Regions from separate parts of the Homo sapiens genome. Here region 1 is linked to region 2. The links are contacts of gene promoters, found by promoter capture Hi-C in blood cells and fetal thymus (Javierre and others, 2016). All regions are on one chromosome and are shown on one strand. Each heading gives the region's core, a stretch centred on a gene start or on the middle of the fragment in contact. The rest is flanking DNA. Distances are from core to core; before and after follow the strand shown. Region 1 has its middle 27 kb from the start of ASDURF. Region 2 holds the start of SLC40A1 (solute carrier family 40 member 1).

Region 1 (2,700 bases), core at 81-2,580, 53 kb after region 2:
TCGTCCCCTAAAGCCATGGCTCTGAGTCTCTGCAGAGGCTGTTTCCTTTGCCTGGAGTCCTTGTTCTCCCTCTGTGCCTGGTAAACTCCTGCTCATCTTAAGCATCTGTTCCAGCTTGGTTTCCTTTTAAAAGTCTTCCATGATTTCCTCAGGTAGAGTTACTCTTTCCTCTGAGCTCCCAAATTTCCATTCCTCAGCTACAATATTTATTACATTGTGGTGTAGCTGTTTCCTTGCCCAGCTTCTCCACTTGGCTGAGACTTCTTTGAGGATAGAGACCATTTTACTCATCTTTGTACCTTCAGTAGGTAGCAACAGTGCCAATCACATAGTAGTAACTTAATAAGTCTAGGTTGACTGAATGTTGAATATGTTTTAAATGCTTGATTGAGAACATTCAGTGACATTGTCAGAGAGAAGAAAAACAAGTTTCTAGTGTACTTTTTTCTATATACCATTCTGCACTTTGTGTAAGGTGGCTCACATTGTAAAAGCATACAGACCTAAACCAATAACATCATTTACCTAAAAAGCAAGAATCCCTTACATCCTTGGTGATAGAACATGTATGTAGTATGCTGTATTTCATATGACATTAAAGATTTAAAATACAGTTGAAATTAGAAATGTAAATAAGTGGAAGAACTAAATAAGCAAGTGGTTTTAATTGGGGATGAGTTTGCCCCCTAGGGGACATTTGGCAAAGTCTGGGACCATTTTTGGTTGTTACAACTTGGAGGATGGGGCTGCTGCTACCATGTAGTGGGTAGAGGCCAGGGATGCTGCTAGACATCCTATAAAGTAGGGGTCCCCAACTCCCAGGCCACGGACCAGCCTGTTAGCAACCTGGTCATGCAGCCGGAGGTGAACAGCGGGAGAATAAGCAAAGCTTCATCTGTATTTACAGCCACTCCCCAATGCTCAAGTTACCACCTGAGCTCCACCTCCTGTCGGATGAGCGGTGGCATTAGATTCTCATAGAAGTGCAAATTCTATTGTGAACTGCACATGCAAGGGACCTAGGTTGCATGCTCCTTCTGAGAATCTTATGCCTGATGATTTGTCACTGTCTCCCATCACCCCCAGATGGGACCATCTAGTTGCAGGAAAATTAGCTAAGGGTTCCCACTGATTCTACATTATGGTAATTTATATAATTATTTCATTATATATTACAAGGCAATAATAGAAATAAAGTGCATGATAAATGTAGTGCACTTGAATCATACCAAAACTACTCCCCCCGGCCCCTGGTCTGTGGAAAAATTGTCTTACACAAAACTGTTCCCTGGTCCCAAGAAGACTGGGGGCAGCTGCCATAAATCATAGGACAAACCCCGCAGCAAAGAATTATCTGGCCTTAAATGTCAATGGTACCAAGGTTGAAAAACTCTGACCTAACCCTTTTACCTCAAGAAACTATAATTTTTTTTTTTGCAAATTACTATAATGACATTGAAGTTATGATGGGTTCTTAGGGGAATGTAATTGGTTCACTAGTCAACTGCTAGGAATGTACAACTTCTAAAAATAATTGTAAAATGTTGTACTCTGAACTCAGGGAAATATCAATCTTGAGAAAAGTGAAGGGCTGGGTATCATGTTCAACATTTGATCAGTAGTAATTTGAACTCTGCTAAAACAATTAGATGATAATAAACATCATATTCAATCTCAAAACATTTGGGTAATTATTAATAAGCATTAAAGAAAGCATTATTGCTGATAAAATGGATGATGACTTTGGAAAGAATCACTTGGCTACTTAGCAATAAGCTTACCAACCTTTGTAACATTTCAGCAATGCATACAAGATTAGGGTAGTTTAAAAATCAGAAAATACATCAAAGCAGAATCAGAAAATGTGAAAGTACTCTAAATAATGAAAACTAAGCTTAACTTGTCACCCAGATTCCAGAATATATGTTAAGAATATGGTGAGAATAGCAACACTTCAAACTTACTTACCTTATTCCAGTGACAATATAGGAATGTGATGCAAAACAAAATCTCTACCTCTGTCTCTAACTTGTTACTGACCATATTTTGACAACCTACAGGTGGGCTTCACTTAGATTTACCTTTGACATACAAATACAGATTGAGCATCCCTAATCTGAAAATCTGAAATCTGAAATGCTCCAAAATCCAAAACATTTTGAGTGCTGATATCACCCTACAAATGGAAAATTCCACACTCGGTACCTTTGCTTTCTGATGGTTGAATGTACACAAACTTTGTTTCATGCACAAATTTATTGAAAATATTGTATGAAATTACTTTCAGGCTATGTGTATAAGGTATATACGAAACATAAATGAATTTTGTGTTTAGACTTTAATCTCATCCCCAAGATCTCATTATGTATATGCAAATAGTCTAAAATCCAAAAAACTCTGAAATACGTAACACCTGCGGTCTCAAGCATTTCAAATTATACTTAACCTGTGTAACACTTCAAAAAATGAACTTATCATTTTTCCATAATGAAATGGAAGCTCTTAAATTATTTTCAATGGCATCACCCAATTTCTGAGTACCTAGGCTCATAATTCTATTATCTTTCATTTCACTCTCTACACTTCAGCCTCAATATCCAACTACCCTCTGGATTTGTATCCTACAGTATCTTTTCGATTTGATCCTTTGCCCAGTTTATTCCCTTTTATCCCTGCTCTTAAAGCCACCGCTTTAATGAG
Region 2 (2,700 bases), core at 53-2,552:
ATCTTTTGTAGCAGATATGTCTATTTACCAAAGCTACTAATGCAACATAAAATTTAAAAACAAGGCAAATATTCCTTTCCTTGATAATCTTGTCTGGATAGTTGTCTATCTACATAAACTACGATGATCTGATAATTAAGTTGCATTAACTAACACTCATGGGGAAAGATCTTCGATGTAAATAACGTTTTCATTAAAGCATGTGTACTTGGATGATTTATTTCTTTAACTGCTTGACAAAACTGGAAGTTGGCTTAATACAACTGGCTAGAACGAAAGGAAATAAAAAATTGCGCAACTGTGTTGTAAGACTATGCATTCTCACTTACCCAAGTAGAGAGAGAATGACCAAGGTAGAGAAGGAATTTTGCAGAGGTCAGGTAGTCGGCCAAGGATCCTGCAAAGACACAGGCGGGGTGACAAAAAGCGATGGTAGTCACTTAATGAGCTGAGGGCAGAATGCTTATCCATTTGATCTCATTAGAACATGATTATTAAAAACTACTTTGCAGGACAAACCACGTACATTTTATCAAGTTACCTATGAACCGATGTATTTCGTTCACTTAATACCATTCACTAAATTCAGTTATTGACCTAGTCAATAACTGCCCAACTTCACATTTCACATACAGTGAAGAAACTCTTGTTTCAGCATTCTTTTTTGGGTTGGTTGGTTTGTTTGTTTTGTTTCTTTTTTACACAAGGCAATCCAAACTGCCCAATCTACTCCATCCGTGCCTGTGTGCAAACCCCTTTTCCCACACCCTGAATTTCCTTTCTTCCTTAACGTCCACCAAATATGAGTCAAAGGATCTTTTTACAAAGCTATGGTTCACAGCAGAGCCACATTCCTCCAGAACTCGTGTAGAGTTGCTTGTCTCCAAAGCCCCACCTGGGTTTCCACCATATGCTTTCGGTCAACGACACTCACCACAGCATCCTCTCTGGCGGTTGTGATCTCCCGCCCTGGTCATGACACTAGGCGACCCCGCTGGCTCTTCTGCGGCTGCTATCGCTGCTGCTGCTCTCGCTGAGGTGCTTGTTAACAGGAGTGCAAGGAACTGGAGATAGCACCTCTAAAAACACAACAGCCTTGGGCAAAAAGACTACAACGACGACTTTGGCAAAGAACAAAAGAAAAGGGGCCCAGGGATTTTCTTTTTTCCTTCTTTCCAAACTTAGCTAACACTGTAGCTGAAGTTGGAAAGGCAAAGCCTTATGGAAGCGGTTTGGGAGGCTCAGCAGGTCGTCCGAGCCTAGCGGACGCCCTGAGCCAGCTCTCTCCGCCGCCGCCGCCGCCGCCGTGGGCCGGGCCCAGCTCTTATACCGAGTCGGGGGCGGAGCTCCCTGCGACCTCCGACTGGGGCCGCCCCGTCCCCTTCAGGGCCGCCCGGGCGTCCCCGCGGCGCGAGACGAGCTCCCGTCAACCTTGCGCGCCGGGCCGTCCCCGCGCCCTTGCCCGGAGGAGTCGCCCACCCCGGGCGCAAGCGTCCAACCGGCCGCAGACACCCTGCGCGGCTTGCGGGGACCTTCGCCTCGACGCGTTCCACTCCCCGGGTTTTCCTGCTCTCCGGGAAGCCGCGAGGGCAACCTCGGGGGGCGGCCGTGGGGCTGGGAAAAGGAGGAAGGCGCGTGGAGCCGGCGGGGCGGCGTAGGGAGATTCTGCGCGAAACTAAGCGTCAGGTGCTGGAAGAAAGCGCTGCGCACCGGCTACCCCGCAGTTCAGGGAAAGGGCGGCCGCCGGACGGTCGCAGTGCAAAGCTCCAGCGCGAGCTTGGTGGGTGGGGATTCCTTTTTTAACGAAAATAATTTTTAATACAGGTATCTAAATAAATATAATTCATGCCACAGAGGCCGCTTTCCTGGCCGTCCCATTCCGGCCCGCCTGCAGCAGAGAATGCCTTTCCTTCCCCGGACTGCATAGCAGGGCTTCCCTCAAAGAACCAGAATCAAAGGGCAGGAAGGGGGCGCAAAGATCAGAGTCCATCCCTCTTGAGAGGAGCAAACGGAGGCTTGCAAAGGTGAAGTCCCGCAGCGAGTTACAGACCTACCCGTATCCCCAAACTGGGGCCTCCAAATCCGTCCTGGAGACAGAATGAGGATGCTGCAGCCCCAGCAAACCCTTCACCATCATTCCTTCTCCCTCTGTACCCTCTCACCCCGCCCCCACGCGCGCGTCCCTTCCCCACCTAACCTCCAAATGCCCCAGTGACAGGCTTACCAGGAATACCGGTTATCCCAGTTGTGTCCCTGGATCTGTCCCTGTCCAGATAAAGCCATTCGGTGGCCTCCTGGAGGGTGAGGTGAATGACTAAAGAACACCAGACTCTAGCCTTGGTTGACTTCGTTTTAATCCTGCTGTGCCAAACCAACCCCTGGGGCATACCAGCCCCTTTTGCCAGTAGGTTACCTTACCCTTCTTAATCTCACGAAAACCCTGGTAGTGGATCCTACATATTGAAACTCCAACCAGATGCCACACCTTGAGCACAGGCCAGACTGACACCCAGTAGTGAAGGGAGCCACGCATGAGTATGTGCCCTGTATCTGCACTCTCAATCAGGAGCCCCAAAGGTCTACGGGGTGGGTGCAGCTGGATTCGGTTGGGATGTGGTCTGGTGAGTAGAGATAGGGGTTACAGTTTAACTACTGCTTTTCACTGCTTTTTGCCTTTTCAAGCCCTCTTTTTTCCTTTCT

Evidence for each region. The method cuts DNA at HindIII sites, captures the fragments that hold promoters and counts their contacts. A CHiCAGO score of 5 or more calls a contact.
Region 1: a fragment that was not itself captured here is called in contact with the fragment with the promoter of SLC40A1 in region 2 in 1 of 17 cell types (erythroblasts); the score reaches 5.9 in erythroblasts.

Annotation. Positions count from the first base shown.
Region 1 is chr2:189,632,828-189,635,527 of GRCh38, forward strand. No RefSeq gene overlaps it. Among named protein-coding and RNA genes, the nearest start is that of ASDURF, 27 kb to the right of the region's middle. The HindIII fragment of the contact is 887 bases long and covers 888-1,774 here.
Region 2 is chr2:189,579,484-189,582,183 of GRCh38, forward strand. SLC40A1 (solute carrier family 40 member 1) reads right to left here and starts at 1,303. Exons shown (of 8, transcript NM_014585.6): 1 at 935-1,303; 2 at 330-397. The coding sequence starts at 977. RefSeq lists silencers at 1,257-1,316, 1,387-1,556. The HindIII fragment of the contact is 14,460 bases long and covers 1-2,700 here.